Linked DNA regions of Homo sapiens: all the other regions are linked to region 1. Evidence: promoter capture Hi-C in 16 types of primary human blood cells and fetal thymus (Javierre and others, 2016). All regions are on one chromosome and are shown on one strand. The core of a region is centred on a gene start or on the middle of the fragment in contact, and the rest is flanking DNA. Distances in the headings are between cores, read along the strand shown. Region 1 holds the start of PDIA6 (protein disulfide isomerase family A member 6). Region 2 overlaps LPIN1 (lipin 1). Region 3 overlaps GREB1 (growth regulating estrogen receptor binding 1). Region 4 overlaps E2F6 (E2F transcription factor 6). Region 5 overlaps LOC105373429 (a long non-coding RNA gene). Region 6 holds the start of LOC124907734 (a long non-coding RNA gene).

The links. Contacts are between HindIII fragments. The CHiCAGO score rates a contact against its expected background, and 5 or more counts as called.
Region 2: a contact is called between a fragment that was not itself captured here and the fragment with the promoter of PDIA6 in region 1, in 1 of 17 cell types (total CD8 T cells). The highest score is 5.6, in total CD8 T cells.
Region 3: a fragment that was not itself captured here is called in contact with the fragment with the promoter of PDIA6 in region 1 in 1 of 17 cell types (megakaryocytes); the score reaches 5.0 in megakaryocytes.
Region 4: a contact is called between a fragment that was not itself captured here and the fragment with the promoter of PDIA6 in region 1, in 7 of 17 cell types (naive CD4 T cells, total CD4 T cells, fetal thymus and 4 more). The highest score is 7.7, in naive CD4 T cells.
Region 5: a contact is called between a fragment that was not itself captured here and the fragment with the promoter of PDIA6 in region 1, in 2 of 17 cell types (M0 macrophages and endothelial precursors). The highest score is 7.0, in M0 macrophages.
Region 6: a fragment that was not itself captured here is called in contact with the fragment with the promoter of PDIA6 in region 1 in 1 of 17 cell types (M2 macrophages); the score reaches 5.0 in M2 macrophages.

The regions. Positions count from the first base shown.
Region 1 is chr2:10,810,846-10,815,414 of GRCh38, reverse strand. PDIA6 (protein disulfide isomerase family A member 6) reads left to right here and starts at 2,630. Exons shown (of 13, transcript NM_005742.4): 1 at 2,630-2,737. The coding sequence starts at 2,719. RefSeq lists a silencer at 2,328-3,077 and an enhancer at 3,568-3,627. The HindIII fragment of the contact is 7,767 bases long and covers 1-4,569 here.
Region 2 is chr2:11,775,263-11,779,831 of GRCh38, reverse strand. It overlaps LPIN1 (lipin 1), which reads right to left. Exons shown (of 21, transcript NM_001349206.2): 6 at 3,639-3,746; 7 at 187-313. Among named protein-coding and RNA genes, the nearest start is that of MIR548S, 10 kb to the right of the region's middle. RefSeq lists an enhancer at 1-904. The HindIII fragment of the contact is 643 bases long and covers 2,096-2,738 here.
Region 3 is chr2:11,598,124-11,602,692 of GRCh38, reverse strand. GREB1 (growth regulating estrogen receptor binding 1) reads right to left here. Exons shown (of 33, transcript NM_014668.4): 15 at 3,833-4,013; 16 at 1,698-1,893; 17 at 151-287. Among named protein-coding and RNA genes, the nearest start is that of MIR4429, 60 kb to the right of the region's middle. RefSeq lists a silencer at 3,879-4,083. The HindIII fragment of the contact is 4,830 bases long and covers 1-4,569 here.
Region 4 is chr2:11,447,314-11,451,882 of GRCh38, reverse strand. E2F6 (E2F transcription factor 6) reads left to right here. Exons shown (of 7, transcript NM_198256.4): 4 at 77-232; 5 at 1,757-1,871; 6 at 4,109-4,256. Among named protein-coding and RNA genes, the nearest start is that of E2F6, 17 kb to the left of the region's middle. RefSeq lists a silencer at 2,295-2,556. The HindIII fragment of the contact is 6,201 bases long and covers 1-4,569 here.
Region 5 is chr2:11,411,872-11,416,440 of GRCh38, reverse strand. The region is part of intron 2 of LOC105373429 (a long non-coding RNA gene); the gene reads right to left. Among named protein-coding and RNA genes, the nearest start is that of LINC00570, 20 kb to the right of the region's middle. The HindIII fragment of the contact is 4,524 bases long and covers 321-4,569 here.
Region 6 is chr2:11,380,815-11,385,383 of GRCh38, reverse strand. It overlaps LOC124907734 (a long non-coding RNA gene), which reads right to left and starts at 383. Exons shown (of 2, transcript XR_007086217.1): 1 at 1-383. The HindIII fragment of the contact is 2,707 bases long and covers 504-3,210 here.

The sequences.
Region 1 (4,569 bases), core at 1,381-3,880:
GTTATTCCTCTGGGCTCCACTGTACCAGGGGCTTCTCTTTGTCAGAGCATGAGGAATACCGCAGTGTAACGTGCCTCTCTGTTGGCTGTGTGCTCCCTGGGGCCAGTGACTGTGCCTGAGACAGTTGCTCGTATAATTAGGTTGTTAATGTGCATTTGGTTTTAATGAAAAAAGAAATGAGCAACACGCCCTGGTGCATTTCCGGAAGCCTGTGCATTTCCAGAAGGCTGTGCATTTCCAGAAGCCTGTGCATTTCCGGAGGCCTGTGCATTTCCAGAAGCCTGTGCATTTCCAGAAGCCTGTGCATTTCCAGAAGCCTGTGCATTTCCCGAAGCCTGTGCCTGTACAGTGGGCTTCACAGGGGTGTGTGCCTCGTGCAGCTGCGCATTCAGCCCACGGTCCAGAGCAGCCAGTGACCTGGGATATTTAGCAGGGAGTTATGATCTGGCCTCTGTTTTCTCCACGAGGATCAGCCCTGAGGCCAACTGGGACAGAGACCACACAGCACACAAAGGGCACTGGCAGTGTGGGCCACCGCAGTTCGAGGGTTCTGTTCCAAGCAGGATTGCTACCCAAACACAGCAGGCCTGGAGAGGCTGCGATCAACTCACAACCCTGAGAAAACAAACTCGATCGTGAGTGCGTTGTGGAAGCTGTGATGTCTGTGGCCCATGGGGACAAAGTTAACTGTCTTAATGTAAAGACAAATGAAGGGGCCCTCTTCTGGTAAGAGAATTAAATTCCTCCATCCAGGGAGGAAAAGCATGACTTTCCAGGCTGAGAGGAAAAGGAAGGACTTCGCTGTAATCCAGTCAGCAACAGCAGCAAATTTAAGGGGGGAAATGTGTCAAATGCAGGAAAGGGGTCAGAAAAACAAACAGCATTCATTGCCCCTCAGGCGCCCTTCAGGGAAAGCAGACAGGCCTGGAGGAACAGGCTCGCAGTCCACTGCCCTTTGCTGTGAATCCCAAACAGCCCTGCGATCACCGGTTGGGCTTCCCACGCACCTTCACATTCAGGAGGAGCTGCCCGGGGTACCAAGCTGAGGATTTCTGTCCCGGGACAAGCAGCCTCCCTGGGGAAAATCAATGCTGGCATGTGGCTTCCAGGAGAGGCCCCCGTGACTTCAGAGGGCTGCTGTGCCTCTGAGTTCAGTTTGCCTGAAAAATCTTCCAAACGCAGCTCTAGTGCCACTTCCTCCAGGAAGCCCACCAGCCGGCCCCCACCACTCCTGGACCCCTGCCTAAGAATACTTATGCCTTACACACTACAATATGGAGAAATTACTAATACAAAAACAAAATGTCCGAGTCCACTCCAAACATAGGAGGGAGAATCAAGGCGGAAAGATACAGTGGTCTTAACTTGTGCTTGAAAGATTTTACTTTTAGGTCGGGCGTGGTGGCTCACAACTGTAATCCTAGCATTTTGGGAGGCCGAAGCAGGCGGATCACCTGAGGTCGGGAGTTCGAGACCAGCCTGGCCAATATGGAGAAACCCTGTCTCTGCTAAAAATACAAAAATTAGCCGGGCGTGGTGACATGCACCTGTCATCCCAGCTTCTCGGGAAGCTGAGGCAAGAGAAACCCTGTCTCTGCTAAAAATACAAAAATTAGCCGGGCGTGGTGACATGCACCTGTCATCCCAGCTTCTCGGGAAGCTGAGGCAAGAGAATCGCTTGAACCCGGGAGGCAGAGGTTGCAGTGAGCCAAGACCCCGCCTTTGCACTCCAGCCTGGGCAACAAGGGCAAAACTCCATCTCAAAAAAAAGCAAAAAAATTTTTACTTTTGCCGGGCGTGGTGGCCCATGCCTGTGATCCCAGCACTTTGGGAGGCCGAGGCAGGAGGCTCACTGCAGCCCAGGAGTTCAAGGCTGCAGTGAACTGTATCATGCCACTGCTCGCCAGCCTGCCCCACAAACATATTTTTTTTCACTTTTGCATATTTTACAAAGCACACACCCACGTGAGCGCATTGCCAGCCCCCTCGCCCCCCAGGACAAAGTGGAGACCCTGTCAGCGAGGAGGCTACCGCTTAAGTCCCTGGGGTTCTCCAGAGAAGGAGGAGAAGGCTCTGCAGAGCCATGCGCCCTGGACGGAAGAACTTTCAAAAGTAATTCAACAAAATAGAAACTTGTCGAATTACATTGCAGACAGCGCGTGCGGAGCAAATGTGTGTCCACGGAATATTCGTCGGGCACAAGAGGAATTCCCTGTCAGCTCCCAGGACCGTGGGTGCCCTGAGGCCGAGTCACGCTCCCCCGGGATAAAGAGGGTGGGGGCGCACACAGGCAAGGAGGAGGCGGGGTGGGGGGGTGCAGAATAAGGAACTAAGGTAAAAACGCCCAGTACTGGACTCCCCTCCGAGCAGCACCCCGAGAGGGCCCGGAGGAGCTGAGGCGGTGCGAGCCGAGACTGCCAGCCCCGCCCCCAGCAGGCCCCGCCTTCCGCTGCTCGCCACCGCCCCCGTGAAAAAAAACCAAACCGGTAACCTCTACCCGGCCGCCTCCCATTGGATATGTGAGTGAGCGATGTCCGCCCGGACCAATGAGCCGCAGCCACGGCTTGGCGAGCGCCTTCCGGCCCGCCCCCGCGCGGCCGCCCCTCGGACCACCGGACTGGCCTGGGGCGGGACGTGGGCGCGGGGGCGCGGCGTGCGGCACGCTGCAGGGCTGAAGCGGCGGCGGCGGTGGGGACTGCACGTAGCCCGGCGCTCGGCATGGCTCTCCTGGTGCTCGGTAGGTGCGGGCCAGCGGAGGGAGGCGGGCGAGCTGGGGTCGGCCTGAAAGGTTTCGAATCTCTAGGCCGTTCCCCGGCGGGCCGCGGCCGCAGGCGGCCGGAAGTGGGCCTGGCGGGCGGGAGGCGCGGGCCTCGGCGTCCGGAGGAGCTGCTAGGTTGCCCCGGCGGAGGTGCGGGTGCGCGGGAGACTCGGGCGCCCGTGGGGAGGGGCTTCCGCAGCCGCGGGGGGCGGGAGCCTCGTGCGCTGGAGCCGGGCGCGGGGTCCAGGGCCGGGCGGGAGAGCCGCGGAGCCCAGCCCCGGCCGGATCCCGGGGAGGGGGTCTGTATTCCCGGAGAGTCGCAGGGGAGCTTGTTCCGGGCTCTTCTCGAACTCGTGCGTGGGGACGGAGGTTGGCGGGCGTCCTGCACTGCTGCTTGTTTCTGCCACCTGCTTTATGCAGCTCCTACTTTTAAAAACTGAAATGTTAAGCCGGGCGCGGTGGCTCACACCTGTAATCCCAGCACTTTGGAAGGCCGAAGCGGGTGGATCATCTGAGGTCAGGAGTTCGAGACCAGCCTGACCAACATGGCGAAACCCCGTCTCTACTAAAAATACAAAATTAGTCGGGCGTGGTGTCGCGCGCCAGTGATCCCAGCTACTCAGAAGGCTGAGGCAGGAGAATCTCCTGAACCCCCAGGAGGCGGAGGTTGCAGTGAGCCGAGATCGCGCCACTCCAGCCTGGGCAACAAGAGTGAAACTCTGTCTCAGAAACGAAAAACTGAAATGTTAAATCTCAGTCCTGAAATAAGGACCCATAGTTCCCTTAGAAAGGGACAGTGCCTTCCAAAAGCTGGGCTTAAGACGCAGGGGCGCTTCGCATGTGATCGGACTCCTTAAAAACGAAATGGAACGCGGCGTCTTAGGAATTCTGTAAATGTCTGCTTCTTAGTGGGCGAGGCCGAGGGTCCTGTCCTTGCCGGGCTCGCCTTGGTCACAGCCTTGGCTCTGACAGTCCTTAACCTCGGCTCTGGCCTCAGACCACCTTCCCCCTATTTACTGGCTCTGTGACTTGGAGCAAGTTACTTAACCACTCTGTGCCAGTGCCTTTTCAACGGTGTTCACCATTTTAGGGACTGATAATAGTACTCCCTTAGGGTTGTCCTGAGGATTAATGAGTTAGTACATGTCTTTCTGTTTTTTGAGACACGGTCTTGCTCTGTCTCCTAGGCTGGAGTGCAGGGTTTCCATCATAGTTCACTGCAGCCTGGAACTCCTGGTCTCAAGGGATCCAGGCACATGCCACCACACCTGGCTAATTTTTAAATTTTTTGTAGAGTCAGGGTCTCATTGTATTGCTCAGGTTGGTCTCAAACTCCTGGCCTCGAGTGATCCTCCTTCCTCAACCTCCCAAAATCCTGGGATTACAAGTGTCAGTCACCTGGCCCAGCTAGTACATGTTTTAAAGAGATGTAAATATTTGCCATATTACTGTGGAGAGAGTAGATGAGGGGAAAAGAGTTTAGTCTGTTTAGTTTCCTGTGAGTGAATTCAGACTAGACCCTGAAAGAGTCCGTGAGTCTATTAATTAACTCATTTTAATAAATGGCAGCCTTTCTGGGAAACCTCATGGTTTCTAGATGACTGCTCTGGGACTGTAGACTCCTCCTAGCAGATGTGGGACAGAGATGTTACTGATGTGAATTTATAGCATCCTTAACTGCCATGGAGGAATGGAAAACCACAGATGGCAGAGCCATCTGCTCACAGAGATTCTAGACACTCACTCGGATGGTCCAATTTCCCATTGGTGTTCATTATCACTGAGTGGAATGGTGATGTGAATTTTAGAAA
Region 2 (4,569 bases), core at 1,168-3,667, 960 kb before region 1:
ACCTCTCTATAATGTTGGTAACGTGGAAGAAAGTAATTCCAACATTCAAGGCTAACCCTTAATATATTTTGGTTTACCTCTGGCTCCTGGTAGCTGTGTTTCTTGGCTATGCTATGATACTAATTCCATGTAATTTAAGCTGAGTTAGAAATCTTCGGTCCGTGGCAGAATTGAAGAGACTCTCACCTTAGCAGCCTGCGGCAGCTCTCCCCACAGCCAAAGCATTTCTGGGTTCTTCTGCCCTGTCCTTTCCGTGGACTTGCTGACCAATTCTGAATCACTTTTAGGTGTTGAAGGTCGGGAACCGGAAGGACTTAAGGAAAACACAAAGCGAAAATTAAGGTGGGAAAAGAAACTTTTGTAAATGTTTTGGGCCCAGCTCCATGGCTCAAATAGCCCAGAAAATGCACCCCCAGCTGTCGTTCGCTCTGAGCGGAGCCTCATGACAAATCCCTCCTCCGGCCACCAGGGGGCAGGGAAGCGCCTCCCATGGAAGGCGCTCCACGTGGGTCGCCCGCCCCACCCTGCCGCCTGGTGCACCGCGGGGGAGAGGAGAAAAAGAAGTGGCCCAGAATACAAAAGAAAGAGATGGAAAGAGAAAGGGAAAAATAGTCTGTTCTTACCTCAAAAAGACCACCCTTCCCCACCCCACTCTGCACTCGCATCTCCTGCAATCTGTTTCCAAATCAAGTTCCTCTGCTGTCAGAGGGCTGCAAAAGGGTCTTGGTTGGCTCGGGCAGGCACTCATTAGAGTCCATATTTTAAATATTTATCATCTGCACTGGCCTGGGAAACAGGGAAATTATATGATGTGCCAATTTTACCAAAGATGCTGGATGCCACAAATAAACTCGATAACGTTGGGCAGGAGCCTACAAGTTGAAATTTTCTAAGATCTTATGTCTTCCAGGAATACTTCACAAGGGACTCACCAACTGGTTAAGGCTCGCTCAGTAACCACCTCCATGTTTCCTGAATTTTTACTCTGAAGACCCAAACAAGGTCTTACTTCTGCCCAGCCAAAGTAACCATCCAAAAGTCATTAACTTATCCACAAGATCCTCACCATATTCTAAACAACTTAGAGAAATATTATTTACAGCAGCAATTCTTGTAATTATTTATTGCCGCATAATAACATGGTTAATTATTGCTTATTTTCCCACATCATTTCCTCTAGAGGAAGGCGGCAGGGTTTTTCAGACAAAGCAGGAAATAAAGCTTTCAGTTTCCCTTGCCGTCTTCTTTCCCAGACCTTATCTATTCTTCGGAAACTGATGCTTCTGGTCTCATTTACCTAGAGTTCAACTCCAATTGAATATAACTTTCCTGTCAATACAAGGTGAGTTCATGATGATACATAACTTGTATCCAACAAACAGGGACCTTGTGGGCTAAACTGATCCTGAATCTCTTTGATCAAGCTGCATAGAGCAGCCAGACCAAGTGCCATCTCTCTCATCTCACACCAAGGGGCAGAGGGTGGTCCCTGCTCCCTTGGTGCCCATGACTCCCAGCCCTTCTAATGACGTGCTGCCACGGGGCAGCCTGCACGCTCTCTTTCGCCTGCCTGGGGAGAGGAGGCTCCTGACATCACATTAGGAGAGCTTCTGCAATGGGACACCCTGCTCCCAACAGACACACATTTCTGCCCTTTAGGGAGCAGTCCTATAAGAAGGCACGTGGGCCCCCCCACGTCCATGTGGGAAAGGCTCCTGGCCTTTCAACCTCCTTGCTCTTCCAGTTCCACAACTGGACTTCTCCAAAGAGACAACGCTTTGGTGGCACTGAAGCGTCTACAGTCACGTGTTCGGTATCACTGCAATGGGAAAAGCGCAGGCTGTGGCCTCCAGCGAGGGGCCTCAGTACCTACAAGTGTGACCGCAATCCACTCTTTCTCCAGCATCATCATGGAATAAGTCCATCAAAACCAACTTCTCACCCTCAACGGTGCTGTTCCCAAACCTCAAAGTATCTAAAAAGCTCTTGCCATTCTGTTTCACCAGACAAAATAGAACATATTTGGCTATAAGTTCTTTGCAGCAATAAATTATCTCACTGTCACTAAATGAAATAAAGTCCTTTAGACAAAGCTTGCTCCGAACAGGGGTCGGCAAACATTTTCTGTAAAGAGCCCAGTGGCAGATATCTCGGGCTTTACGGGTTTTACGACGTCTGTCGCAACCACTCGCTGCTGTGGTGGTGTGAAAGCAGCCACAGCCAGTATGTAAACCAACTGCCTATGCCCGGGAAAGTCTGACAGAGGCAGATGGTGGACCAGATTTGACCCATGGGCCGTGCTTTACCAACCTCTGCTCTAGAAGAACGAAATGCGGAACACGGTTCTCCTGCAGCAATTCCCAACTCCAGAGTTCCTAACATTCTGGTCCCTTCATAAAAGCCACGAGCCACAAAACCCATAGAGGCACTCAGGCGTGCAACTCACGCATAAGGAGCCCAGCCCTACGAGAAAGTCTGCTGCAAGTCCCTCCCCAACAGCAAACAGGCCACCACCATAAATGCTGCCCGTTCAGGCCACAGCAACCCTTCTCCAAAGGTCTCGTGCACAAACACAGATGCGCTTTCTGCCGACCGTCACTGAGGGAATTCAGACAGACCAAAAAGGACGCAGGAATGGGGCCCACTGCCAAGTGGGATTTACCAGAAAGATGACTCCAAAGTGCTCCGTCATGAAATATTATTATTTTAAGATCAAGGGTTGTTCAAAAAAGTAAGCTTACAAGGTCAATGACTGATGTTCATAAACAAGGTATTTATTAGCCTTATCAAAGTTTTCAGTATTTTTGCCAGTCCCAATAAGGCTAGTTAGTTTTAACTATTAACAACTTTGTTTTCCTCATTTTAAACGGACTTTTCTTCTGCAAATGTAGCCTCTGAATGAAGTACATCCTGAGGTCTGGATCTTTAATCAAAAAGACAAAAGGTTTTCCACGTACAAATTAATCGTAGCTTCATTTGCTAAGGCTTACAAAGTAAACCATGTAAGTCCACAAAGTAGGTAGGTCAAAACTGAGGGAATGAAGGCAGAAATCTGAGATGACTACATCGAGTGAACACACCAACCTTTGATCCTCAGCCTGAGACCCAGCCCAGGCCATTCTCCAAGATTCTGTTCTAGAAATGCTGTGGAAAGTGTCTGACTCCATTATTCAGACAGCCCAATAAACTACTTAAATGTTTATAATAAATTAAAGTGGTATTCCAAAAATATCTTGTAAACTTATTTGTCAAACAACCCGAGACAGAAAACAGAAGATCATATTCCCAAGCTATATTTCATTATTCTCATTTTCAAAGCACTTCACAGAATTAGGTAAAATTATATGCTTAACCATAATTTCCAGAGAGTCAAATTTAGGAATTAAAAAAAAAAAAAAATCTGATCATCTACAAATGCTTATAACGAAAGGAAAAGAGTAATCTATATACATATTTTTCATAAGTAATTTGGTTAGTGAAATCGATTTGTAAAAGTTAAATCAAAATTTTCACTTCATATAATCTACAGGTATTTTCTTCATAAGTAATTTGGTTAATGGTAAAATAGACTTATAGTAAGAGTTAGATCAAATTTTTCATTATTGAATATATCCCAATGGGGAAAATAACTCCTCTACCTTTCCGAAGGATGGAACAGGGAAGACTGTGGAGGGCAAGAACTAGACAGACCTCCCTCGGCCGCAACTGCAAGATGAGGGGCAGTCCTTTTGCAATCTACCAGGCTACTGGATACCACCACGTGATACACATTAAAAGAAAGACAAAATCAGAGGTCAATTACATCAAGTGAGATTATATAAAGTATATGTAATATACTTTATATAAAGATTATATATAAGATTATATAAAGTATATATAATATACTTTAAAGACTATATATAAGATTATATAAAGTATATATAATATACTTTATATAAAGATTATATATAAGATTATATATAATTACAAAGTATATATACTTTATATAAAGATTATATATATTACGTAAAGTATTTGACTACTCTCAACAACGACATTTTTAAGAAAATAAAGAAACTCAGACATCTGATAATGGCAGAGCACCGGATATTGAAATTGCTAAGAAATCAGCATGAATTTTCTGAGACACAAAAGCAGGAAACTGCCAAATGACCTATTTCACTTTCTGTTTCACCCATGTGTAGAACTGATCATCTCTGGTCACACTTTCGTGCTTAATCAAACTACATAATCCAAAAATGTGCTCGTGTGTGCTGTCAATTGTCTCTTTACAGAAAATACCTAATTCCAAATGTGGAAATGTAGCTATTTATCCTAATTTGTCATTCCATTTGGTGATAGTCAGAGCTACATAACCTGACTCAGTCATTATGCTGCATTCATGAGGCAAAACATTACAGATGTTTTGAGCATTAAACACGCTCAGAGTTGTGTTTAAAGTGTTTCTTTTAAATCCTTAAAATTAACATACAGTGCTTGAACAGATTTTTTCATCTATTATTGGGTTCTAAATATTCTACATTATTTTCCTCCTAAACCACTATTTTTCCCTCCACTATTTTATCTCCA
Region 3 (4,569 bases), core at 1,014-3,513, 790 kb before region 1:
AGGAAAAAACCAGGGTACATTTAGTGGAGAAACTGAGTTGCTCAGGAAGGAAAGGCCTCCCTTCCTGGAATTCCCTGGCTGGCTAAACGCACCTCAACTTGCCCTTTAAGCTACTGAGCACTTCTAGTAACTTAGAAGAGAAACAAGTACCTTTTTCCTAATGCAGTGACCATGGCCTCAAAGGAGCTATCGTATCTGAGCAAGGGGAGGCTGTGTCCTGAAAGGGTGGATTCAATAAACTCCGACAGCCCGAAGTACTTCTTATTTTCATGATATAAGTCCACTCCCTAAAACAAAGAAGAGCGTCGGTCACTCCAACACTGCATTCGCAGGGACGGTCAGAGGTTCGTGTGCCAGGCCTGCGGATGACCTGGGTTGGCAACTTCATCCAAATCGTGCCCACTGTGCAGTGGCTTGGATGGCATTTTATAAACTTCTTCCATCTGCAGAAGCAGAGCAAAGTACCTCCCATACTTTAAAAATGGTGTGTCCCCATTGCTCAGGAGTTTTCCATTCATTTGGTCCCAATGTTTTTACCAAGAAGAAAATCAGCCTTATCTTATTTTAACATATACATTTCTTTGTTAAATTTGCTTCTTTCTACAATCTTAAGCTGGTTTTAGGAATGGGCAAATCAATTATTTTGCATTCAGTTGCTACTAAAAATCAATAGACAAAGAAAACATTTACCTAGCCAATTTTACTCACACAGACATAAAATTCCAAAGTTGGGGGAGTTTGTTGAAAATATTAAGGCATGAAAACTCTACTCCTAAATAGCACAGTGGTTAAGGGCCGAGCCATGGAGCCAGTGGCCTGGGTCATATCCTAGCTCCACGACTTTCTAGCTGCCTGGCCTGAGCCAAGTGGCCCAACTCTTGTTGGCCACTTTGTCTCATGTTCCCCATTTGTAGATGAGAACTCATCCTAGCACCTGCCTCTTGCATGAGCTCACAGCACGAAGCACTTTGGGCAGGGCTTCCCTGGCCTATGGGAAGTGCCTTATGAACAATGGCTATCCCCACCATGGATTCTCAGTCCACAGGACGGAAGCCAGGTATTTTTTAAAGTTTCTCAGAGGATTGCGAGGCACTCCAAAAAAGTCTCATCTCTTACGTTTACTTATTCTTGTGTAACTAACTACAAACCACCCAGAATTCTCAAATTACCAGGATTGTTTTAGTCTTCTATTTTGATGAGAAAATGTCAGGTGATAAGCTAAAAACTCATCAAGTTTTGAGGATATGTGTTCAGTTTGAGGAAGGAGATTCTGAATCTCACTACTTAAGGATGCAGGGATAGGGAAAACAGGAACCTTCCTAGGGCTTCTGGAGACATTAAGCGTTGCTCTGTATGGAGCCCAAAGCCCCCAGCGCCTAAGGGCTCTACCTTCAATATCTCCATTCAATGCCATAGAACAAACATTCCACATGCTGCTCAGAAAGCGGCAGTCACCAGAGAAAATGTCCCACAAACTGCATTACATCTTCCGAGATGAGGAAGCCAACTGGCGTACTGCAGGAAGGTTACCAAAAAGACCAAGAAGGGTTTACAACCTAACTCTGGGTTGAACCAAAGATCCAAGGAGCTGGAACCCATTATCCTCAACCACACTGGTCAAGGCTGTTACTAAATGTAATTTCTGCAAACCCAAGTGATATTGCTACACAAGGGCCCAGCAGCCCCGTGGCACTCACATTACTGCAGGAGGCAGGCCAGTGGATCTCGTTGTAGGGGCTGATGAGGGTGTGCTGTGTCTGCAGTGCATACGGGAAGGAGGTCACGTGAAGTGTCACAATGTTGGGGGCCTCCTTCACCTCCCTGCAGTTGAGCAATCGGTCCACCAATCCCACCGACGGGTCACTTTGAGAATAGAGGTTATGAACAGTGCTACTGAGGGAGGAGAAGACACAATCAGTGGAATTACTATATTGTTTTCTAATTTTGCAAGGTGAAGCAGTTGAATAAATTTATAACTAACCCCTGACTTTACCAACGACTAAAGATTATGGCTCTGCCCCTGACTAAGAATAGAGAAAATAAAAAAGGCTGGACTTCAGGTAGCTGTCAGGGGCTCTCCTGAGATTCGTTACTTAGGAAAAATGTGTCTGGCGTGGGACGGTAGTCAGAGAGGATTTCTTACAAGACACACACTCCTTCTATCCCAATCGGACAGTGATATGACCCTGGGGATGTTCCATGAATCATTTGTTCCTCTTTGGCCCCATCTGATTGTGTACTTATCTCCTTACACAGTCCTTCTGACCTTGAAATGATCCAGAAAAGATGTAAAAGAGTAAATTCTATAGTCAGTTTAAAAGGCAGCAGGAAAGGATTGGGAAGCATTTTGGACAAGGGGTCTAGGAGACAGGCCCAGCTCTGCACTTTTCCGTGGGACAAAGGCCTTTGCATTCTCTCCTGTAAGTTTAGGGGATTAAAAAAAAAAATCAGTGCTTAACCCTTTGGATGGCAGGAGGCCACTCTGAGAAACCTATTCCCAAAATGAATATTCACAATACAGCTCTTTCTATAATTTCGGAATGTTCCGATTTCCCCCAAGCCCACACATGGATTCTGGATTGTAAACCCTTTACGAGGTCCTTCATGTCCTGACCAGCCTAACTAGCTATCTGTGGATCTGCGACAATCAAAGGCTTTCTCCACGACCTGGCCCAGGAGCCCCCTCCTTCCTCATCTACATCAGTGGAAATGTCTGAAGGTACAACCCCTAGGCCAGTCTCACGGAGATGACCAATCCCGGTAAACCACCAGAAATCCTGCCAGGCGCTTGGCTTGGCCCATCTGAAATTCATCTGGGTTTATGTTCATTTTAACTGAGTGAGTCAAATCACCCCTTAAGAAGGGCAGGCATCAGCCGGGTGCGGTGGCTCACGCCTGTAATCCCAGCACTTTGGGAGGCCGAGGCGGGCGGATCACGAGGTCAGGAGATCGAGACCATCCTGGCTAACACGGTGAAACCCTGTCTCTACTAAAAATACAAAAAATTAGCCAGGTGTGGTGGCAGGCGCCTGTAGTCCCAGCTACTCAGGAGGCTGAGGCAGGAGAATGGTGTGAACCCGGGAGGCAGAGTTTGCAGTGAGCGGAGATCGTGCCACTGCACTCCAAGCCTGGGCGACAGAGAGAGACTCTGTCTCAAAAAAAAAAAAAAAAAATACAAAAACGAAATTAGCTGGGCGTGGAGACAGGTGCCTGTAGTCCCAGCTATTCAGGAGGGTGAAGTGGGAGAATGGCATGAACCCAGGAGGCTGAGCCTGCAGTGAGCCGAGATCGCACCACTGCACTCCAGCCTGGGCGACAGAGTGAGACTCCGTCTCAAAAAAAGGAAAAAAAAAAAAAAAAGAAGGGCAGGCATCAGTGGTGACCCACGGTACCAGAGCCCCCACGGAGCCTCTTTCAGGGAAGGGCTAAGCTGAGCTACTCCTGCTAGGACCCTCCGCACCCCACACCAGCATGGCTCCTTGTTGCTGAGTGGACTATGAAAGAAACACATCAGGCATCAGGCTGTGATTCGGGGTCTCAGCTCTGCCACTAACACCCTCCCACTCCACCCCACCCTGTGACTCTGGGAGACACGCTTCCCTTCTCCAGCCCTTAAATTCCACCATGGTAAATTTCAGAGGTCACACTGGATAATCCCTGAGATAACTTCCAGCTCAAGATTGTGGGAAACCTCCATGGCATCTGCTTAGAAACACCAAGCCCAAACATCATCCATCTTTTCAGGATTTGTACCCTCAGCCCCCGGGAACATCCACATACATCACTTCAAAGAAGGAAAATGTCAACTTGTCATATATCAAGTCAATCTAACCTCACAAGATCCCAGTGCGCATGGTCATGGATTAGGACAAAAAGTGTATGCGGGTTCTGGAAGGAGTTTTGCAGAAAAGCCTTAAATTTTGTCTGTGCCTCCGTGTCTAGCTTCAGAACATACTGTTCCACCCTCTGCTTCGTCATGTGCTCTTTCTTCAGACCAAGCTCCAGCAAAACCCCTGCAACACAAAGAACATACATCAGTAACTGCAAACATGCGCACTGGGTTTCATTCACTCAACAGACACCTGAGGAGCGACTCCTACACAGCAGGTCCTGAGCTAGACTCAGAGATGCAAGAGCAGGGAAAGGAAGGGAAAAAACTCCCACACAGGTTACAGCTGCATAACTGTCCTGCACAGGAGCTGGGGCGCAGGCAAGCCTTGGCTGTGTGTACAGCAGCCCTCCCGAGGGGCACCAGCTTCATGAAGCAGCTGATCCCAAGCATGGTAAGACAGAGGGAACCGAAAGGTCCTGCCAGCAGCAAAATCCCTCTCTCAGTCTGAATGCCACAGGGCGATACATGACACCACTAAAGAGTGAGTCCTTTCAGTGAAGACACCGGACATCTGTGTACTCTGTGGTTAAATATGATATCCTTGAAAGTACAAGGATATCAGTGACGCTAGATAGCAACATGTGGTTAGGTCACTAGCCTGAGTGGGACATGGTGAAAGTTCAAGTTTTGGCTCTACCTTCAACAGATCCTAAAATCTTGGGCAAGTCACTGTCTCT
Region 4 (4,569 bases), core at 634-3,133, 640 kb before region 1:
GTTCCAATAACCTAACTTGAAATTACTTTGTTATCTCCTAGTTGGTATTGATGCTGACATTTTTTTTCTTCTAAAGAGGATCTGATCTTAGCAATTTTGGAGCAGTTCCCCAACAAAAGAAGCTACAGGAGGAACTTTCTGACTTATCAGCAATGGAAGATGCTTTGGATGAGTTAATTAAGGATTGTGCTCAGCAGCTGTTTGAGTTAACAGATGACAAAGAAAATGAAAGATATCCTTTAAGTCTATACCTTTTTAAAATTTCTGCTTCCAAAACAGATTACTTAAGTAGTAGAGTCAGCTTGGGGACTTAATTTATATATTTAAGATATAAAATTAGACCATTGAAAGTTAAATACAAAATTAGCCAGGCGTGGTGGCACACATGGCTGTAATCCCAGCTCCTTGGGAGGCTGAGGCAGGAGAATCGCTTGAATCTGGGAGGCCGAGGTTGCTGTGAGCGGAGATGGCGCCATTGCACTCCAGTCTGGGCAACAGGAGCGAAACTCCGTCTCAAAAAAAAAAAAAAAAAAAGTTAGGTAAAAGTTGGTAGTAGTATAACCTCAAACATACACAAACAGTAGGTTTTTTAACTTCTGTGTGGCATTTCTTAGATTAAATTCTGGATGATGACCTCAGGGGTACAGTACCAAACCAAGGTTGATGGTACCACTTAAAATGGTGAGTATTCATTTTTATAGTCTGAATACTATAAGGATAATAAAATATTTGTTGGCTTTTGTGAAGTTCATGTTTTTCCTAGAAATTTGTGAATGGAAGTTGATTTCTGAAACAGTGAATTGCCATTGAAGTGGTGCTTAAACTGCCATTTGTGTCCACAGAAGCGCGTTGTTGCTTAGTAGCAGTTTTGCTTTGAAACTCAGTGTCTCAGGGAGCTGGGGGGTGGGGCTGGGGGAGCCTTGTCTTTGGTACTGACCTCCTGGGTGTCTTAAACCTATATGCTGTGCTGTTCCCTGTGGCACCCTTTGAGGGGCTCACTGATTCTGAGCTATCCCATACCTCATATTTACTTAAAACTCTCTCCAGCAGTCAAAAACCTCTATTCCCACAGTACAGGTACTGGAAGGAAAAGAAAAAATAAGCACCAACATTACTGCAGCCAATCAGAAAAAAAAAATGCTAGAGAAATCCAGTAAATCACTTAATTGGTAAAATTTGAGGCAACACAGTGAGACAAGACGAAAAAGACTCAGGTAGTGAGATGGAAAATAATTTTGGATGAAGTAACATCATACATGATAGTCTTGAGAAACTTAATCTCTAAGTCGTTTATGCCTTTTTATAGATTTTTTTCCATCTTTCATTTTAGGGGATTCTTGTCAAAGCCCTGAGTGTTTTTTCTCAAAGTTATAGTAAGATCTAGCTTACTATACCTGAAAAGGGAATAGGGTGAAAATTTGAATTTCTTTATGTGGTGTATTTGTGTTAGGGACTCAGACTTTATTAATATTTTTCTCCAGAAATTGCCATCATAATCATAATAGTAGAGCTTAAAGAAACTCTTTAGGTTGTGTTGTAAATATTGTAAAACCCTTCATAAAAATCTTAATTTTATGTGAATAATAAAGATTATCAATGAATTTTTTTTTTTTTTACTGCTTTCCTTAATGGTGAACTTGTATCTCATAAAAACTAAAAACATTCTAACATTACCCTTGCGTTAACTGAATTACTAGAGATAAATTACCTCCCCAGTAAACAGCATTCTGTGTAGAGATCCTTGACTGAGTTTTACACTAGCATATGTGACCTATCAAGACATTCATAGCATTCAGGCCTTCCATGAACAGATCGTCATTGCAGTTAAAGCTCCAGCAGAAACCAGATTGGATGTTCCAGCTCCCAGAGAAGTAGGTAACCCTGCATTTTTAAAAAGATTTAAAGAGGGATGAGGGCCGACTGCTTAGGCTGTGATTTATTGCAGTCATACTTAAGAGCCGTTGTGTGCACGTGCACTGTACATCCGATACTGCTCAAGGCACTTCACACATTTAACTTGCTTCAACTAACACAAGTCAAGTAGTCATTATTATCTTAAAGATGAGGAACCAAAAGCTCACAAAGATGAGTTAACTTTTTCAGGATCACCAGAATTCAAACCCAGTTAGTGTGGCTTCATAGTTTGCTTTTCACTATTGTACTGCAGTGCTTCTTAGAAGAATCACCAAGAATTGGCCCATCTTAAAGTTGCAAAAGTAAGGTCTGGTGTCAGCCAAGGCACTGGGGAATTAACAAACTCTTGAAAGACTGATGAATAAACCAGGACGCTAGGTTCTGAATTTAAAATGGAAAAGTAGGATTTCTGTGTAAATGAACATTATTTTTGTCAGCCGCCAGCTGCTCAGTGCGTTCTTTCCCTTGCAGAAAAATTTGCATTGAAAGATAATTGCATCAGAAGGCTGCTTGATGAGGACAGAATCAGAACCAAGGAATGTGGCCATTCTTGGGACACATCCTCAAGACTGACAGCCTTGATAGACCCATCGGTGCTCACAGTGCAGCCCTCTGCATTGCCCTGGGGGTTTGCCTCCTGCCTAGCGAAGAATATTTTCTTGACCTGTTTTTCCTTTTGTCCCCAGCAGACCACTGTTCAAGTGAGCCCTGTATTACTCCACAGTGTATGGGGTAAGGGCTGGCTTTCATTTACCTCAGTCACACTCAAGTTATGATTTCTTGGTGATGTTTCCTAGTTGTTTTATTTTTAAGAAACTGCCAATCAACACATCTTTACTTTGGGGCATAATAATTCATTCTGCAGAGACTAATGGATTTTTGGCTTTTCCCTATGCTGTGAGCTGCTTCAGACTGTAATTGCTAAATCTGGCTGAGCCTTTGATCATACCTGAGGCTTCTCTTAGAGTCCTATTTAAAGTCTCTGCACATGGGCCCTCTTGGCCAGAGCCTGACCGTGAAGATCTGGGGACCTAGTGTGATGGGTGGCAAACTGGCCCTCAGGTCAGATCCGGCCTGCTCCTTTTTCTTAGAAATAATTTGATTAGGACACAGCCACATGCACATTTGTTTACATATTGTTTCTGACTGCTTTCATACTATAGTGGCAGAGTTAAAAGGTTGTGACAGGGATAGTGTGACTTGCAAAGCCAAAAATATTTACCATCTCAGCCTTTATGGAAGTTTGACAACACTTAATTTAGTGGAATGTTATTGTTAAGAAATATCTATTAAATTGTACAGGATTTATCATTCAAACCAGTTGTGACCTGGCACTCTAGAAGCTGAGCACAGATGTTCTCTAGCCCACTTGTAGTACCAGGAAGTCATAGCAAGGGCAGGTGAGGCTCTGAGACCGTCTGAGAGGCTGCATCTCCACAGACTCACCCTGGTATAAGATCACAATGAGGTGTGGAGTGGGAGGGAGCAGTGGTGTATGTGTGTCTAGCCCAGGCCTAACTGCATTAAAGGGGAGAAAACAGACTTTGTTATAGTTGAAGCAGCTCCCAATTAAAGCAATCATTTATAACTGGGGCTGTTCCTTAAGAATTTAGCATAATTCCCAGTAGAAGCACTGAAGTTGCCTGATACCTTACGGAAAAAAAGTATTTTGATTAATCCTGAGGAAATCTGAAATCAAAGGATGTGAATATCATAATGAGTTAATTAGTCCTTTATAAATAATGTAAACGATTTTTTTGACATTTTACTTGAGATATATTTTGATCTTTTCCTGTTCTTTCAACTGGACAAAAGAATGGCCCTTCCATTATCTCAAGACCTGTTCATTGGTCTGGAAATCCAAGCACATATTTATCCTGTGAGACTCTAGGGTATTCTGGAGTTCTGTGTCATCAAAACACTGATTTTTGACTGAAATACGGCCTCCTTGAAGGGTCAGCTCCTGAGTAGAAAAAGACAGGCTCTTGAGTACTGAGGTTTTCACATGATAGCTCTGAAGCCATTACTGCAGGATCACATGTAGCTGTCTTCAGCATGGGAATTGGCCAGTGCTGTAATGTGACTACAGCTAAGGTGATTTTCTCAAATGTCTCGAAATTTTTGCAGTTCTAGTGAGTGAAAAAATATGATTTATTATTTCATTCATCTTGACGATTCCTGTGTCCTTTGCTAGGACTCTATCACAGTGCACATAAGGAGCACCAACGGACCTATCGATGTCTATTTGTGTGAAGTGGAGCAGGGTCAGACCAGTAACAAAAGGTCTGAAGGTGTCGGGACCTCTTCATCTGAGAGCACTCATCCAGAAGGCCCTGAGGAAGGTAAATATACCAGTGATTCTGACAGTATTTTAATTAAGCATGCATAATTTTATTAATGTGTATTATGGCCTTAAGATATTTTTACTCTTCCTAGCCACAAAAACATGAGTAAAAAATTACAGCATAACTCTTACTGTAGTTTAGAATATTTCTGTGAACATTATAGTTAAATTTCTGTAGTTTTGGTAGCAGTGAAAACTTAGAATTCTGTTTGGTCCCATGGTGATACCAACTTGCGATGGTCTCTGAATAGGGCAGGCTTTCAGTCAAACAGCAGCTCCACTCGGCCAAAGAGCCTGCCCATGACCTGGCC
Region 5 (4,569 bases), core at 1,333-3,832, 600 kb before region 1:
GGCTGAGTGAGGTTCCGCCCAACAGCCAGATCAACCACCAGACAGTAAGTGGTGATGTCTCCTGGGATTCCAACCCCCAGCTCTTGAGTCACTCTTAGCCATTAAGTCTTCCCAGCTGAGGCTCCCAAGCCATCCCACTGCCATGTCCAATTTCTGACCACAGAATCTGTGAGGGTAGTCAAATGGTTGTTATAAGCTGCTTAGTTTAGGGATAATTGGTTACACAGCAATAGTAATTACAACAAATTAGAAAGCACTTCTGGATTAGAATCACCTGGCCATCTCATCATCCAAATCATAGAAGCTGAAAAGCATAAGCTTCCACTTTAGCCTTCCCTCCACTGACAGTATTGCTAAGATCTTCCTTCCCCTCTGCTGAACATCACTGTGGAAGAGAAAACCCAAATACTCCTAAACTTGTTATAGTGTCTAAGAGTTGTATTTGAAAGACTTTAAAAGACAAAAACAAAAAAACACTAGTTCAGAAGTGTACCACATGCCTCACTACTTAATACCAGGGAGGCTTTATAAAGCAACATGAAAACCTAAACCAGTGTCATTTTTATATTCCCATCTGAAAAGAAAAGCACAAAATAATCAACTGTGCCGTAGAGTATCCAGGAATTGGTCAAGTAATCTTTAGTAAGCCTCTCCATTTGGAAGACCAAATGGAATAATGAGAAAGAGGAAATCATAGGGATCCATAAAACCCGGGTTCAAAATAGGTTCATCCTTATGGTGTCTGGGTGGTCTTGAGCGAGTTACTCAACCTCTCTGAACTTCAGTTTATTTATCTCCAAAACAGGATTATCTAATTATGTTCCTAGCCACAGGGCTGTTATGCTGACCCAATGTGGTGTTCAGAAATATGAAAGCACTTTGTACAGTGAGAAGACTAAATATGAACAGAAAAATGAAAGAAAAAAAACAAAATAAGCTACGTGTATATCCAGGCAATGTAGGCCAGTGTCAAAAAAGGTAAAGTAAGGGCTGGGCGCGGTGGCTCACACCTGTAGTCCCAGCACTTTGGGAGGCCGAGGCGGGTGGATCACGAAGTTAGGAGTTTGAGACCACCCTGACCAACATGGTGAAACCCCGTCTCTACTAAAAATACAAAAATTAGCCGGGCGTGGTGGCGCCCACCTGTAATCCCAGCTGCTCAGAAGGCTGAGGCGGGAGAATTGCTTGAATCTGGGAGGCAGAGGGTGCAGTGAGCCGAGATCGTGCCACCGCACTCTAGCCTGGGCGACAGGGCGAGACTCAGTCTCAAAAAAAAAAAAAAAAAAGAAAAACAGGTAAAGCAAAAAGCAAAACAAAAAATTCTCTATTAAACGTCAATGTTCCTGGCAGACACAGGTGCCCATATTTACCTGTTACAGTGATAGAGGATCCAGGAAGTGAAGTAGCATCACTTCACTGTCTTCCCTGCAAATCCTGTTTATACCAAGTTTTATACCGCTTTGCTTTGAGCAAATTCATCTGCTGCTGCTAAACTGCTGCCTGCCCCAGAACTCCCACTTTCGAACAAGCCTGTGATTGCTTTGCAAAGACTCATTTCCAATTCAGATTCCTAAGATAAGCTGCCAGTCTTCTTGGGGTCTTCCGTCTCACGGTTTTATGTCCGGCCAGCAGCAGGCCTAGCCCTCTCCTGTTGCTCAGTGAATTTCAATGCGAATCTTCTCTTTTCTACTTGCATGACCGAAAAGACCCTCAGAGACCAGCCAAGCCCATCATTTTACAAAACAGAAAACCAAGACCTAGGAGAGGAGAAGGCTCACAACCAGGTGTCACAATGTATTACAGAACGGAGCTCCTCTTTCCATAAATAGTTTTCTCCTCGTTATTCCTGCATCGAGCATGTGTTCCAGACTGCCTGCTTGACATCTCCAGATGGATGACTAATAAGTTTCTTAAACTTAACTTGTCCAAGCAGAACTCTTGATGCCACCCACCCAAATGTGTTCTTCCCCCGGTCCTCCCAATCTCAGTTAATTGCCCAGTTGCCCAGGCCAAAAACCCAGGAGTCATATTTGATTTATTTCTTTTTTCTTTTTCTTTTCTTTCTTTCTTTTTTTTTTTTTTTTTTGAGACAGAGTCTCACTCTGTCACCCAGGCTGGAGTGCAGTGGCGCAGTCTCGGCTCACTACAATCTCTGCCTCCCCGGTTCAAACGATTCTCCTGCCTCAGCCTCCCAAGTAGCTGGGATTACAGGCGTGCGCCACCACATCCAGCTAATTTTTATATTTTTAGTAGAGACAGGGTTTCACCATGTTGGCCAGGATGGTCTCGATCTCCTGACCTCATGATTCGCCCACCTCGGCCTCCCAAAGTGCTGGGATTACAGGCATGAGCCATGGCTCCCAGCCGGATTTATTTCTTTTATCTCACTTCCTACATCCAATTAACCAACACGTCCTGTGGCTCTGTCCTCAAAATACAGCCAGAAATTGCCTACGTCTCACCACTACCAAGACACCAGCACCTCTCAGAGGGCTTCTATTATAAAATAGCCCCCCACTGAGATTCCCTGGCTCCACACCTGTCTTTCTTGAGTCTTTTCTGCACATAGTAGCCAGAAGGGAAGTTTTGAAACCGTAAATTAGATCACTTCACTCTTCTACTGAAAGGGCTCCAACGGTTGCCCATCTCACAATAAAATCCAAACTCCTTACCATATTCTTTACACAGTGTACCCTGCCTACTTCTTGGGCTCCATCTCCTCCTACTGACTCCCTAGCACTCTGCAGTCCTGTCTCTCTTGGCCTTTTTGCTTTTCCTGGAGCGCACCAAGCTCATTTCCATCTCAGGTCATTTGCACTTGCCGCCTCCTCTCCTGAAATGCTCTCCACCCACATCTTCACATGGGTTGGTTGTTGTCTTCCTTTATGTAGGTTTCTAACTGAACCTACCTTGACCAGTCTTTCAAAAAGAGTACACCCCAATCACTCCAATTCTTTATCCTGCTTTACTCTTTTTTTTTTTTTTTTTTTGAGATGGAGTGTTGCTCTGTCACCAGGCTGAAGTGCAGTGGCACAATCTCAGCTCAACATCTGCCTTCCGGGTTCAAGCGATTCTCCTGCCTCAGCCTCCCCAGTAGCTGGGATTACATGTGCCCACCACCACACCCAGCTAATTTTTGTGTTTTTAGTAGAGATGGGGTTTCACCATATTGGCCAGGATGGTCTCAATCTCTTGACCTTGTGATCTGCCCACCTTGGCTTCCCAAAGTGCTGGAATTACAGGCATGAGCCACTGCACCCAGCTTTTTTTTTTTTTTTTTTTTTTTTTTTAGACAGAGTCTCACTCTGTTGCTTAGGCTGGAGTGCAGTGGTGCGACCTCAGCTCACTGCAACCTCCACCTCCCAGATTCAAGTGATTCTCCTGTCTCAGCCTCCCAAGTAACTGGTACTACAGGGATGTGCCACCATGCCTGGTTAATTTTTTTGTATTTTTTCGTAGAGATGGGGTTTCACCATGTTGGCCAGGCTGGTCTCAAACTCCTGACCTCAAGTGATCTGTCTGCCTCATCTTCCCAAAGTGCTGGGATTACAGGCGTGAGCCACCATGCCCAGCCTATCCTGTTTTACTCTTCTTTATAGCACCATCTCCACATGAAATCACACCACACATGTTCATGCACTTGTTTACTGTATGTCGTCACTGCTGTTCCTGAAGCTCCATGAGGATGGGGTCTTAGCCTGCCTTGGTCCCTTGCTTTATCCAGGGTGCCTAAAACAATGTCTATCGCATATCAATCACATAGCAGAATGTCTATCACAATATTTATTGAATGACTGAATCAGCAAACTCACATATAAAATTTGGGACAATCCAAAACTTTTTGAGAAACAACTTTTAGACTCAACACACAATGGGTGTACGTATCCTTTTTTAGCACATGGCTCATGTAGAGGCCATTTTATCTGTGATGGATTTACCACAGGGCCACAGTGCTTACAAAGAAGAGAGAGAATTGAACATTCTAAAGCGCGTTTAGCGCAAGGAAGGTCCTGCCTGGGCACTGGAGTTCTGGGTGGGACTTTGTTTTCCTGCAGCATAGTAAGGTACTGACAGATTCAGACTTTGGTGCATTCCCAGGACATGTGGCTTCCAGCAGAAAGGTGGGTCATTTCCAAGCAGTCGAAGCATTTCGTCTGTGCGACACAATTTAGAGCCCTTCCAGAATCCATTTTCTCAGTGGACCTCCAGGAATTCCCTGTCAGGAAAGAGTCAGACCTGCAGGGGGAGCTGATAGCATGCGTCCATCCTGGAAAGCCTCAGAAAATGGGGGTCCAGAAATCTAGCTATTCCTTCAAGTGGGATGGATTTAAAAGGTTATCGAATTTTATAAACATCCAGGATATTATTCTCTTACTCCTGCCAGAGGCTGAGAAATTGAAAGATTCTTAAGACTCAAAATCGCAAGTGGTCAAATTGCTTTTATACAGCCCGTATACGGCAGGATTTTATCGGAACTCTGGGGCCACTTCCTCTTCAAGGATAGATTTGAGAGTCCCTTATCTCCTTGTCTACAGACGTTGCCAAGGTGGTGGCTCCAAATGATGGTGA
Region 6 (4,569 bases), core at 608-3,107, 570 kb before region 1:
CTTTCTGTTGCTTAGGCCCCACAGTTTATGGTACTTTGCTAAGGCATCCCTAGCAAATCAACACAGTGGTATATGTAGAAAGACATGCATAGAAAAGATAAACACCAGCTTTAAAACAGTGGTTACCTCTATAAGGAAGTGAGATGGGACCAGAGAGGGGTACTTAGAAGACTTGGACTATATTTGCAAAACTGTAGTTTGTAAGCTGAGTGGTGAATATCTGGACATTTATGTTATTCTTGCCATTTTTTATTATAAACCCACAGTTACAGGTAAGTGTGACTGCTGTCTGAGTGACCTCTCCTTTCGAGGCAGCCTGGCGTAGAGGGGCTCTAACTATAACTTACTGGGTGACCTTGGGATTGTCACTTCTCTCCTCTGGCTTTAGTTTCTATAACTGGAAAATTTGAAAAATGAATTAATTCAATGTTTCTCAAAGAGTGTTTCATGGAACACTAAGAGTGTGAGATTTTTAAATATATATTCTATACCAAAGAAAAGCTTACCTGATCAAATAATTTTAGGAAGCATTAGATTATCAAAGATGTAATCACCTTGTTTTACTGCAGAAATCTCAAAGACTTTTAATGAGTAGTTAACAGGGGGCTATGGTATGTATACAACAGAGTCCTCTTTTCAAAGAATAGCAATCAGTTTCTTTTTTCTGTTCATTCAAATAAAAGCTCATGTTCCTGATGGTTTTGAAAGAACATCAGTACTTTTCTGCGTGGGCTACTTTATGTAAATGCATATATTTAAAAAGTTTAGGCCGGGCGCAGTGGCTCATGCCTGTAATCCCAGCACTTTGGGAGGCCGAGACAGGCAGGTCGCTTGAGCTCAGGAGTTTGAGACCAGCCTGGGCAACATGGTGAAACCCTGTCTCCACGAAAAATGCAAAAATATCAGCCAGATGTGGTGGCATGCACCTTGTAGTCCCAGCTACTTGGAAGGCTGAGGTGGGAGGATCGCCACCAGGAGGTGGAGGTTGCAGTGAGCCGAAGTCACGCCACTGCACTCCAGCCTGGGCAACAGAGCGAGACACCATCTCAAAAAATAAAACAAAATAAAATTTAATTTTTTTTAAAAAGTTTAAATGACAAGACAAAACAGATAGCTGTCTTATATGCGATAGACCATACAGTGTGAAACGGGGCATTCTTTTTTTTTTCTTTTGAGAAAGGTTCTGTCTCCATTGCCCAGGCTGAAGTGAATGGTGTGATCATAGCTTCCTGGAGCCTCAGCCTCCCAGCTTATGCGATCTTCCCACCTCAGCCTCCCGAGTGGCCAGGGCTACAGGTGCACACCACCATGCCTCACTAATTTAAAAAAAAAATTTTTTTTATAATAAGCTAGGTGTGGTGGCACATGCCTGTAATCTCAGCTACTTGGGAGGCTGAGGCAGGAGACTTGCTTGAACCCGGCAGGCGGAGGTTGCGGTGATCCGAGATCATGCCATTGCCCTCCAGCCTGGGCATCAAGAGCAAAACTCTGCTCAAAAAAAAAAAATTATAAATGGGATCTTGCTATGTTGCCCAGGCTGGTTTTGAACTCCTGGTCTCAAGTCATACTCCCATCTCAGCCTCCCAAAGCGCTGGAATTACAGGCATGGGCCACCATGCCTGGCCAATAAGATTTTCTGTATGTTACATGGACTCTAGTTTTGCAAGATTTTAGTAAGTATTCCATAAAGAAAGAGAGCTGTAGTCAAATAAGTTTGGGAAATATCGGGTTAAGTAGTTATGTTTTTCTTCTTCTAGGACTTGTTGGAGGCTTTAATATTCTAATATTATCATACATTTCTGAAAGAAGGGTAAGGGTGCAATATTCCCCAAATATATGTATGGAACATTTTACTGTAGAAGTTATATAGAACTAATGTTCTGAGAAACACACTTAGGTAAATGGCACTTAACATATTGTGGTATATCTTGTAATGTGTATCATGCCATTAAGTATCTTTCATTTTTATCTTTTTATTTTATTTTTAATTTTAATTTTTATTTTTTTGAGATGGAGTCTCACTTTGTCACCCAGGCTGGGGTGCAGTGGCTCCATCTCGGCTCGTTGCAACCTCTGCCTCCCAGGTTCAAGCAATTCTCCTGCCTCAGCCTCCTGAGTAGCTGGGATTACAGACACATGCCACCACGCCTGGCTAATTTTTGTATGTTTAGTAGAGATGGGGTTTTGCCATGTTGGCCAGGCTGGTCTCAAACTCTTGACCTCAGATGATCTGCGCGCCTTGGCCTCCCAAAGTGCTGAGATTACAGGCATAAGCCACTGCGCCCAGCCCATTAAGTATCTTTTAAGTATGGTTTTTAATGGCTGCACCCTTCCCCAGTGTCTGATGATGCCAAAGTCCTGGAAGTGGAATTAGAGGGTCGAAAGGAATAGGCCTTTTTAAGGCCTTTCATAGGTGTTGTCTAATGCTCTCCAAGAGGCTAGTAATTCACTCTTCTGACCAGCACTGGGTGTTACTATTATCTTTTCAAATTGACACTTTGATTTGGTACCTTAGTAGTAGTTTGATTTGAAAAAAATTTATTTTTTGTTAGCTTTGTATACTAGACGTGGTAGTCAGAATAATGACCCCCCAAAGATGTCCACATCCAGATGCCCAGAACCTGTGACTGTTTTACCTTACATGGAAAAAGGTACTTTGCAGATGTGGTTAAGCTGAGAATCCTGCAATGGGAAGACTAGACTGGATTATTTAGGTGGTCCTCCAAGTGCATCATGAGAGTTCTTATAAGAAGGAGGCAGAGATGTAGCAGAAGATGTGACAACAGAAGCAAGAGATTAGAGTGATGTGTGGAAAGGGCCACAGGCTGGAGAATGCAGGTGACTTCTAGAAGTTAGAAAAGGCAAGGGAACAGTTCTCCCCTCGATTTCAACCCCTTGAGAATGATTTTGGACTTCTCACCTGCAGACAATAAGGGAATACATTTGCAGGGTTTTAACTTAGTTTGTAGTAATTTATTACAGCAGCAATAGGAAATGAATACAACAGAGTATCCAAAATATGTAAAGAATTCCCATAAATCAATAAGGAAAAGACAAACCATTAGAAACACGGTCAAGAGATCAGAACGGATCCTTCACGATCAGATATGTGATTGGTCATTAAGCATATGAAAAAGTGCTTAGCCTCATTAGTTACTAGGGATATGCAAATTATTTAATAAAACCACATTCACCAGAATGAATAAAGCTTAAAAATCTGATAATAGCAATTGTTCATAAGGTGTAGAGCAACAGGAGCTTTCTCACAGTGAGAATATGAACAGATGCAGTCACTCTGGAAAACAGTTCGGCTTTATCCACTAAAACTGAAGACAGACATACCCTACATCCAGCAATTTTACTCCTAAGTAAGTATTCACCAGAAACGTATGCTTACCAAGAGGCCAAGAGGCATGTGGAATATTTAGAGCAGCATTATTTATAAGTACCCCCAAGCTGGAAACAACTTAAACTTCCATCAGAGGTAAAGTAATAAAAATAATTATGGTGGACTCACACAATAGAATACTATGCAGCAAGGAAAATGAAGGAACTACGTACGGTTAATGCAACAATGTACGGATTCTCACAAGCGTAGTATGCAGCAAAAGAAAGCAGATGCAAAAGAATACACACATTCGATTCTAAGTATAAAAAGTTGTTTTGGCCGGGCGCCATGGCTCATGCCTGTAATCCCAGCACTTTGGGAGGCCGAGGCAGGAGGATCACGAGGTCAGGAGATCGAGGCCATCCTGGCTAACACGGTGAAACCCCGTCTCTACTAAAAATACAAAAAATTAGCTGGGCGTAGTGGCGGGCGCCTGTAGTCCCAGCTATTCGGGAGGCTGAGGCAGGAGAATGGCGTGAACCCGGGAGGCGGAGGTTGCAGTGAGCCGAGAGCGCGCCACTGCACTCCAGCCTGGGCGACAGAGCGAGACTCTGTCTCAAAAAAAAAAAAAAGGAAAAAAAAAAGTTGTTTAAAAAACAGGCAAAACTAAGAAGTAATGAATAATAGAATCAGGGTAAGTGTTTACTTTTGAGAAGGAGGAAGGAAGTAGTGACTGGCAGGAGGCATGAGGAGGTATTTCCGGTTCTGGCAATGTCTATTTATTGACCCAGATGATGGATATTGACTAAGCTATACATTTATTTTGTGCCCTTCTCTGTACATAAATTACACTTCACAGGGAAAATTTAAAAAAAAACACACAATGAATTTTTTAATGTACTGTTTGTTTTAACTCTCAGTTCATTCATAACAGTTTAGTTTTTATAATTTAGCTTAGTGTTTTAAAAATATGATTTTTCTAATCATTGCAACAAAAATACTTTCAATAAAGTCTTTCCTCTTGAATTTTAGAATGCCCCACCTTAGCCCAGCATGGTGGCCCATGCCTGTAATCCCAGCATTTTGGACTGCTAAAGTGGAAGGATCACTTGAGCCTGGGCAATGTGGCAAAACTCCATCACTACAAAACTTTTTTTAAAAAATTAGCCAGGCATGATGGTGCCCATCTATAGTCCCAGCTACTCAAGAGGCTGAGATGGGAGGATGAGTTGAGCCCGAGA